3 separate regions of the Homo sapiens genome follow, and regions 2 and 3 are each linked to region 1. The links are contacts of gene promoters, found by promoter capture Hi-C in blood cells and fetal thymus (Javierre and others, 2016). All regions are on one chromosome and are shown on one strand. The core of a region is centred on a gene start or on the middle of the fragment in contact, and the rest is flanking DNA. Distances in the headings are between cores, read along the strand shown. Region 1 holds the start of SSTR2 (somatostatin receptor 2). Region 2 overlaps SLC39A11 (solute carrier family 39 member 11). Region 3 overlaps SLC39A11 (solute carrier family 39 member 11).

What was found. The method cuts DNA at HindIII sites, captures the fragments that hold promoters and counts their contacts. A CHiCAGO score of 5 or more calls a contact.
Region 2: a contact is called between a fragment that was not itself captured here and the fragment with the promoter of SSTR2 in region 1, in 4 of 17 cell types (M0 macrophages, M1 macrophages, monocytes and 1 more). The highest score is 7.3, in M0 macrophages.
Region 3: a fragment that was not itself captured here is called in contact with the fragment with the promoter of SSTR2 in region 1 in 4 of 17 cell types (M1 macrophages, M0 macrophages, M2 macrophages and 1 more); the score reaches 7.7 in M1 macrophages.

What each region holds. Positions count from the first base shown.
Region 1 is chr17:73,163,017-73,166,274 of GRCh38, reverse strand. SSTR2 (somatostatin receptor 2) reads right to left here and starts at 1,265. Exons shown (of 2, transcript NM_001050.3): 1 at 987-1,265. It also overlaps the pseudogene POLR3KP2. RefSeq lists a silencer at 1,011-1,350 and an enhancer at 1,891-2,140. The HindIII fragment of the contact is 15,303 bases long and covers 1-3,258 here.
Region 2 is chr17:73,060,870-73,064,071 of GRCh38, reverse strand. The region is part of intron 3 of SLC39A11 (solute carrier family 39 member 11); the gene reads left to right. Among named protein-coding and RNA genes, the nearest start is that of SLC39A11, 30 kb to the left of the region's middle. The HindIII fragment of the contact is 1,265 bases long and covers 1,121-2,385 here.
Region 3 is chr17:73,038,591-73,041,851 of GRCh38, reverse strand. All of the region lies in intron 3 of SLC39A11 (solute carrier family 39 member 11), which reads left to right. Among named protein-coding and RNA genes, the nearest start is that of SLC39A11, 52 kb to the left of the region's middle. The HindIII fragment of the contact is 1,458 bases long and covers 665-2,122 here.

The DNA of each region.
Region 1 (3,258 bases), core at 16-2,515:
GGTCTCTGTGCGGCTAGAGCGAGAGCCCCCACTGGCAGGGTGACAAAAGCCCCTGAGGGCCACCGCGGCGCGTGAGCGCCTGGGAAAAGCCGGGGCGGTGCTGGCCTACGGGGTTGAGAAATGGAGGGGCGAGTGTCAGGACCGCGGAGCCGGTTGCTCCCGGCTGGCACAGAAAGTCCTCCTCCTGGCCATCCAACTCGCTGATCCTCAGAGCAAGGGTTTCCCAAAGAACTCTGTGCCATTTCCAGGAAGACGAGGCAAGAGCGGAGATTGTGGCGCCAGCACGCCCAGTATCGAAACGCACAGCAGGGGTGCCGGGTGTGGGGGGGGGGCGCTGAGGACAGAGACATCGGGGCGCAGAAGACAGTCGCTTGGGGGACTTGGCCAGCGGCTTTTGGGCACGGCCTATGCAGTGGTTTTTTCTCTCCAAACCTAGACAAACTGTCCTTTCTGTCCCGAGGTGGGGGACGGGGACGGATCCTAGATCGTTCAGCGTCTAGGGAGAGAAGCCCCTCTTTCTCCGCTCTGCGCCCGCCGCCTGCCTCTGGCAGGCTCGGATCTCCGGGTGCGCTCCCGCAGGAGCCCCAGCTGGCATCTCACGGCCTCGCTCCCCTCGCGCCAGGTCTCTTTTGTAGGGGGCTGGGAGAGAAGTTGTCACCCGTCGCAGCTACCTGAAATCTCGGGCTAAAGGGCACACGCCACGCACACGGGCATGAGGCTGCGAGGACACGTCCGTTCCAGCACACTCTACCCACAGCCCCCTTACTCAGGCAAGGGTACCCGTTGTCGTTCATTCCTACTACAATCACCCCAAAAGGCACAAGAGCGGAGAATCACGCACCGGGACCTAAGCTCAGGCACTCGGATGGGCACACCACCATCAGCGCAGATGCACACAGGTGCCCAAGTGCGCTTCTCGCTCCCTCCATCTCTCTTATCACACACACACACACACACACACACACACACACACACACACCCCTCACCTTTGCTTTTCCGCTGCAATCCGCTAGCTCCGGTCTCCGACACCCAGCGGCTGTCCCCGAGCCAGCTGGGCGCCGGGGCGCGCAGCAGCTTGGCTAGCGCCTGGCGCCGGACGTTTGGGGTTCCTGGCTCCTCGACCCTCTTGTGCCGGCTCCCGCTAGCCCCTCGCACGTAGAGAGCTCCCCTCGCCCGCAGACCCCCGGCGCCAAGCCTCAGACTGGGGCTCTGGGCGCTGGTGGTCTTGCGAGCGCGCGCGCATGGGTGGCTGCGCCGCTGGGACTGGCCCAGCCAGCCCGGGCCCCTCGGCACATTTCCCCACGCCCCCCTCCCGCTACGTCACAGCGGCTTCGCTCCGCCCCCCCAACCCCTCCTCCCGGGTCCTGCAGAAGGACAGGGGTGAGACCGGCTGAAACGCCTGCGGGTGGCCGCAGGCAGAGCTTACAGACAGCCGGGGAGCGGGGAGAGAGGGGACCCGCCTGCGGGGGCGTAAAAGGTTAAGCGTTTTCGGTCTCCTCAAGACTCATGGCAAGGACAAGCGCTATTTTCCCTCTGATTTCACAGAGTCGATTCCCTTCCACCCATATATTCTAGGCAGCTGGAGTGGCGGCCGGGGTGACCCAGACTTATACCGGGACCTCTGTGATTTCCTTAGCCAAACAAGTTAGCAAAGCTGTGTTTACCGTGGGCCAGCCCCGGGCGCAGGGCGCAGGGCCAGGCTAAGAGTAGGGAGAAAAAGGGCTCAGGGGATAGCGCTTCTCCATGCAGTTCCCAATGAGCGCAGGGAGTGTAAACCCGCACCTGGAGTCCAAGATTCAGTCCTAGGAGCCATCAGAGGGCCAGTGGACGTCGACTGGTCCCAGCTGTCCCTGCGTCCCACAGCTTGGAGGTGCAGCGGCCATACAGGTGGTCCCCTTGCTGTAGCCACGTCAGTCAGCACCTGCTGGTCTGACCCAGCACAGTCTCTCCTACATGCTGTGAGGGAGCAAAGGGGAGCAGGCAAGAAGTGGGAGTCGCATGGAGTTGCAGCTGTTTATTTTTGACTGTGATGATTCAGCCTCTTTTCCAATAGTTTAATAAGTCATAATCAATCCTGCAGCCTCCCCTTCCTCACCCTCCTCCAAGTACATAGGTATACACACACACACACACACACACACACACACACACCATCCTCAGTACAGTTTTAGAGGATGTGAAAACAGAAAGCAAACCCCAACTAGCTTTCTCTGTGAGCTGAGCTGCCTTGATTTGTCCATCCTATTATCTGATTTCCAATTCACCAGGGAAAAGTAAAAGTCCAGAAGCTGTGTGGCAGGTGGGGTGAGCCTTAGAGATAGATGAGTGACATGGAAAAGCAACCACCAGGTACAGCAGCAGCCAGCTCTCTCTTCTATCTGGGCCAAGCTGTATCTTGGGGTACCCACTGTGAGATGGGGATCAGGAGTTTCCATCTCTCTCTGAGACGTTGGTCATGATAGGGCTTAAATCTTGGCATCCTGGAGCTCAGGGTGAGATGGAAATTGAGCTGCAATTGCCTTAAGTTCCAGGAGTCAATCTGGGAGCCAGCATCTCTTTTAGACATGTGTATGCAAGTGGAAGGGCTGGGGTGGCTAGCTCACTGGAAGAGGGCTGTGTCTGCTCACCGTCAGTGGGAAGAGGGAGAGGCAGAGAGGTAATAGTAATATCAGGAGGGCATCGTGGAATTGTGCTCAGGGGAACTCGGCATCCTCTGGCCACACAGTTGCTACAATGCCTGTTGCCACCTCCAGTTTAAAACCAGTAATCTGACTGGTTTCCAGGAAAAGAAGGAAGAGCCAGGAAGTGCCCACTCTGCCCTCAAATTCCTTTCCTAAAAGTTCTCAAACTGTTAATACCAGATTTACGTTTCATTAAAAAAAATAATAACTGGAGCCAGCAGAGTCCGAGATGATGCTGCTGTTCTACCCTGGCTGCAGGGATGGGCTGATCGTGGAGGAGGGACAGCGCTGCCGCTGCCACTCCCTCGCCTGCAACACGTGCCTCTGTGTGCACTTCACCCACAAGGTAACAAATTGGAAGTACTCAAAGCTGAAAGAAGTGGATGATGGGCTTGGGGGAGCAGCTGCCTGGGAGGATGTTGACTCTACTGCAGAGCCATGTCCTCAATGAGAACCTCCTTGTGCTTACTACATGTAGCTTCAGACCCACTCTGCAGATGAGCCGAAGACCACCTTCTACCAGTGCTGCAGGACTCAGTGTGGACACCACTGGAGGGATTAGGGCAAGGACGGCCCA
Region 2 (3,202 bases), core at 504-3,003, 100 kb after region 1:
TTGGAAACCTCTGTCAATTTCTGAGGCGCTGGTCTTCTTGTAGAGAAATCAACCAAGACAGCCCTGGAGCTAAATGAGTTAGTTCTCCAGGAGTGTGGAAAAATTAGATACCTGTTAAATGCATAAACAAGGGGAAACCAGATTAGTATTGTATTTAAGATGGAGGAAGGGACACACGGTCATTGCCTGTGCATAAACTTTAAACAGATTACAGACGTGAATTTGCTGAACACTTTGTAATTATGCATGAAGATTTCTGTGTGGGGGAGAGTATCCATGGGCTGATGGCAGCGAACACTTGCATCTTATGGGCTCAGGAGCCCCAAATATTATTATGTGACATTGGTTTATTGCTTTATACTTTTTGAAGCACTTTCTCATCCGTTACCTCATCTGACCCTTGCAATAATCTTGTGGCCATAGGTTTTATTTTTAATTTTAATTTTAATTTTTTTTTTGAGATGAGCCTTGCTCTGTTACCCAGGCTGGAGTGCAGTGACACGATCTCGGCTCATTGCAACCTCTGCCTCCCGGGTTCAAGTGATTCTCCTGCCTCAGCCTTTAGAGTAGCTGGGATTACAGGCACGCGCCACTGCACCTGGCCTTGAAAAGCTTCTTTTACCCTCTGAAAATACATTTTGACACAATTCGTTAAAGTCTTGCAGCATTTAATTATATTAGAGTTTATAAGAGTGAAAGATACATGAGGTTCTATTAGCAGCGTAGGCCTTCCAGTAATTATTTCATAAGGGGTCAATCTGTATATCCCAGTGAGAATGGATCTGATTGCCATTAGTGCTAACGGTAGTACCTTTGGCCAAGTCAATCCAATTGATTCAGTTACCTTCGTCAAATTCATTTTTAAAAATGCCTTTTGTCATTTTTATCTTTCCAAAAGACTGAGGGTGATAGAGACAATGCTAGTACCTTGTGCTTCTAACATTTTAACTCTTTTATAATTTGTCCAAATGGATTCCTGTGTCACTAGAGATTTTGACAGGGATGTCTCCTCAAGCAGGGGCCCCCAACCCCCAGCAGGCCCCCAAGACTTACTGGTCTGTGGCCTGTTAGGAACTGGGCCACACAGCAGGAGGTGAGTGGCGGGTGAGTGAGCAAAGCTTCATCTGTATTTGCAGCCACTCTCCATTGCTCTCATTACCTCCTGAACTCCTCCTGTCAGATCAGCAGCAGAATTAGATTCTCACAGGAGCACAACTCCTATGGTGAACTGCACGTGCAAGGGATCTAGGTTACGGTCTCCTTATGAGACTCTAACGCCTGATGATTTGAGGTGGAACAGTGTCATCCCAAAACCATCCCCCACCCCCAATCCGTGGAAAAACTGTCTTCCACGAAACCAGTCCCTGGTGCCAAAAAGGTTGGAGACCACTGCCATAAAGGAAATAAATTTTGTAATAACTTCCTTGCTACTGTCATAGCATTAGCTTTTCTACATGGAAAGTTTCTATCCAACCAGGAAACATGCAAACTGTTGCAAGACATACTGATATCCTATTGAAGGTGGCAATTTAATGAAATCCCTCTGTAGATGTTCAAATGGCCTATCAGGTAGCAGAAGTGTATCACCTAAAGTTTTTTTTTTTTTTTTTGAGACAAGCTCTGGCACTATCACCCAGGCTAGAGTGCAGTGGTGCAATCTTAGCTCACTGTAACCTCCTCTGCCTCCCAAGTGGAAGCCATCCTCCTACCTCTGCCTCCCAAGTAGCTGGGACTACAGGCATGCATCACTACACCCAATTTTTGTATTTTTTTTTATAGAGATGGGGTTTTGCTATGTTGCCCAGGGTGGTCTCGAACTTGTGAGCTCATGTGATCTGCCTGCCTAAGCCTCCCAAAGTGCTGGGATTACAGGTATGAACTACTGCGCCCGGCCTCATCTGAAGTTTTGATTGTCTTTCCAGGATTATGAGTTTGACAAACTAAGCACTCACTGGTTACAAACCATCCTAGTAATTCTAGAACAGTCGCCACACCATTATTTTTCCATAATTTGTTTCATTTTGTCTGTGGTATGAAGAGTCATGGAACAGAGGATTTTTTTTGTTTTGTTTTGAGGCAGGGTTTCAGTCTGTCACCCAGGCTGGAGTGCAGTGACGTGATCACACGAGGTCACTGCAGCATTGACCTCTTGGTCTCAAGTGATCCTCCCACCTTAGCCCCCTGAGTAGCTGGGACCACAGGCTTGGGCCACTACACCCGGCTAATTTTCGTGTTTTTTTGTAGAGATGGGGTTTCACCATGTTGCCTAGGCTAGTCTTGAACTCCTGAGCAGAAGCAATTCACTCGCCTTGGCCTCCCAAAGTGCTGAGATTGTAGGCATGAGCCACTTGCCCAGCCTGCACAGAACTTTTAATAATGGAAGCTTTAAGGACTCAGAAAAGACCAAGTAGTTGTCTAAGCCCTCTATGAGTCTACGCTTAATGTTGAATTTACATCCTTTCAAGTACAAGTTTTATTTCTCCAATTAAGATGCATAACCCTGTCCAATGAATAGGTCATCATAGGTGATTTGACTTGGATAAATCTTAGGGAGTTCATTCAGCTTCTATATCTTAACAATTTCACAATCAACTGACTTAGCATGAAAATCTGACTTAGCATTTAAGTAATTCTTGTTCTTTTGATGGTGGGTTAACAGTTTTATGAACCAGTGAGTTTCTTCATACGAGTTCTGAGAATTTTTTTTTCCTTGAGACAGAGTCTTGCCCTGTTGCCCAAGCTGGAGTGCAGTGGTGCAATCTCAGCTCACTGCAACCTCTGCCTTCTGGGTTGAAACGGTTCTCTGGCCTCAGTCTCCTGAGTAGCTGGGACTACAGGTACCTGCTACCACTCCCGGCTAATTTTTGTATTTTCAGTAGAGACGGGGTTTCACCATGTTGGCCAGGTTGGTCTCGAACTCCTGACCTTGGGATCTGCCTGCCTTGGCCTCCCAAAGTGCTGGGATTACAGGCATGAGCCACCACGCTCGGTGAGTTCTGAGAATTCTTACCCAGTTTAATGATACGATCTTAAAGTAATCACAAACCTGTACTTGTCAGAATCTTTTCCGTGAGCCTCCTTGAAGACAAAACTATATAGGCTTATAGTTGCTTAGGAAAGTACCGAGCAAACAACCGTCTGTGAGTGACAGGACTTAAAATGTCCATGGTTAAAGAGCTGTTGAAATTTCATTCAATAATGA
Region 3 (3,261 bases), core at 144-2,643, 120 kb after region 1:
AGGGACTATGAAGAAGAGCTTGTAAATATCTGGTGATTTTAAATGTTTTCTCCAGTCCCTTTCAGCCTTCTGCTGTTAAGGCTGTGATTTACAAGCCTTCCACAAATGCACAGTCCAGGTGGGTGTTAAGGTTATCATGCAGAAACATTTCTGAAAATTGAGTTTTTGTACATAGGATTCTTTACTCGCATTGGATTTTCATTGTGAAATCAGGGTGAAGATGTGGGAAGATGCTGGGTGCCCCCATTCCAGCACATAAACTATCACTTTTTCTCCTGTTTTCAGCCTGGTATCCCCACCCTTAGCTGGGCTGGGGGTCCTGCAATGTCTGGTGGGACAGTTGCCTGGCTGCCTGGGGTACAGGAGGAATCTGGAGTTTACTTGCTTCTTACCCAGGCTTCCATCAGGTCTCTTTTAGGCCCATCTGCACACTCATTGTCAAAGGCTCCCTGGCTATTCTGGGGCTTTGTGGGATGAAGCACCTTCCTTCTAGTCTCTTCCTTCAGCCCCAGGTGGCAGCCTTCTTGAGCATCCATCAGCGATTACCTGCTTCTCTCTTCAAGCTTCCAAAATGTGGCTGCCATGTCCTCTTCCTTTCCTTCTGACTTTGGCCTTTGGATCCTTCATATCCCTGTACCTTTACTCCAGTGAGAATTTGGAAGCTTGTGTTCCATTGGCCATGTTTAATTAGAAGCCCTACAACGTACATTCTGTGATATTCCAAAGTGGACTAGGAATTTCACATTAGTGTAGTAAACCTTTGAAAATTAGATTTAGAGGGGAATTATTCTCTGATTGGATATACTGAGTAAGTGATACTGTTAATACTGTTTTTTTTTTTTGTTTTTTGTTTTTTGTTTTTTTTTTGAGATGGAGTCTGACTCTGTTGCCCAGGCTGGAGTACAGTGGTGTGATTTTGTCTCACTGCAACCTCTGCCTCCTGGGTTTGACTGATTCTTCCACCTCAGCCTTCCGAGCAGCTGGGACTACAGGAGTGCATCACCACACCTGGCTAATTTTTGTATTTTTAGTAGAAACAGGGTTTCACCATATTGACCAGGCTGGTCTCAAACTCTTGACCTCAAGTGATCTGCCCACCTCAGCCTCCCAAAGTGCTGGGATTTCAGGCATGAGCCACCGTGCCTGGGCATGTTATAATCATTAACTTTTAATAAGCTCTTTATTTGGAAGTATTTTAGATTTTAAGAAATGTTGCAAAAATAATACAGGGAATTTCTGAATAGTGCCCTTCATCCAGTTTCCCCCAATGTGAACATCTTACATAAATAATCATGACACATTTGTCAAAGCTAAGAATTAACATTTGTTTGTTACTATTCCCTAAACTCCAGACTTTATTTGGATGTCACCAGTTTCCCCACCAATGTCCTTCTTCTGTTCTCAGATACCAATCAGGATACAAACTGCTTTTAAACTGTTCCTATTTTAAAGTGTAATTTACAGCAGAGGGAGGCGTACCTTTTATTCAGAGACTTAGACCAAAAGTATAACATCTGTATGTTTTGTTTTGAAATCCCCAACTTTAGCTGTGCTGCTGGGAGGGGATTCTAGTGTGACTTACAAAATTGCTTGTTTCTCTACCTACTTCTAAGGAAGTCATGGGATATTAATGGGTTTAAGTTTGTGAGGTTTGATTTATCTTTGTGAAGCAAGTATTTAACAGGATTATTAGCCCTGTTCATTAGTGGCCACAAATTTTCTAGTGCTGGGTTTTCTTGGAGTAGTTTCTATCAGAATATCGGGGAATGCTATGGGATCGATTGCATTCAGTTATTGCTGACACTGATTCATCTCGGACTTCAGCTTTGGGATTCCTTCCCTGATAATGGGGGAGGTGGTAACTTAAACCTGGCCTTTACTCTGTAGCCCGCAGAATTTCTTACAAGATTCTGAGTTGTCAAGTAGGGGTAGAGGGTAGCACAGTCAACTTGGGACAGACCAGCTTGCTCTGGGGCTTTGGGAAAGCCACTGAATCTCTTTGGTGTCAGCCTTTTCTTCTGTTAAGTGAGGTTTTTAGATTAAATGGTCTCCTAAAGTCCCCTTTGACTCTAAGTGAGTCTGTGATTCTATCAGTAGACTTCAGTAGATTATCTGTGAAGCTTCGAAAATTCTGCGTTGGCCCTTTTCCACACCCATGAAAATCTCAATTATTTTAAACAATTACTCACCCCATGTTTGTGAAAGGACAGAAGGCATTTGAGTATGAGTCTGTATAATACTTAATTTGGAAGCTAAAAATTACTGTAAAAATTAGGCATTAGACCAAAAAATGGGTGTTGAATCACTTCCTGATCATGCGTTCTCATTTCTCCACCCTCGTTCCTCCCCTTCATTAGCAAGGATGACAGAGAATGCGATTAGGCAACAAATGTTGAATAGTCGCTCTGTCCAGGACTACTCTGATGGGGGTGCCAGGTACAGAGATGCTTAAGGCACAGCACTCTCCTGGGCATGTGCGACGTTCTGGGGGACATGGACACGAGTGATGAATCTAGTGTTATGGAAAAGAGCCGCCTTAGAAGTGGGGTATAGCGCAAGATGGGAGGAGGAAGAGAGGATGTCTGCAGAAGGCATACGGGGAGAGGGATGAATCCAAAACAGCACTGACCCGTTGCATATTTCCTGCTGGGAATCGGGTTGGGGTGGTATTTGCATTGACTCTCAGGATTCTTAGGACAATCCTGTGAAATGTACCATTTTCAGGTGACAAAACTGAGCTGCAGAAGAGAGCTTAGGTTATTTGACTGGGGCTACCTAACCAGTAAGTAGCTGAGCCAAGATTCAAACTCGGACTTGATTCTAAGTCCTGCATTTTCCCATAATAAATATGGACTTGGGCAAAGAGTTGAGGGTGTTCGGAAGAAGGGGCATGGGAGATGGGTCTTGGCGTTTTGGTGTTGTCACAGATTGAGCTGCTTAGGCCAAGGTGAGGGAGCAGAAGAGTTCAGCAACAACCAGGGGCAGTAGTACAAATGGGGTCCCTAACGGTTGGGTAGGCCAGTAGTCTCAACCTCAACTCGTCCCCTCCCCTCCCTCCCTCCTCCCTCCTCCCTCCCTCCTCCATCCCTCCTCCCTCCCTCCTCCCTCCTTTCTTTCTCTCTCTCTCTCTTTCTCTTTTTCTTTTTCAACAGAGTATTGCTCTGTCGCCCAGGCTAGAGTGCAGTGGCTCCATCCCAGCTCACTGCAATCTCTGCCTCCTGGGTTCAAGTGATTCTCCTGTCTCAGCCTCCCAAATAGCTG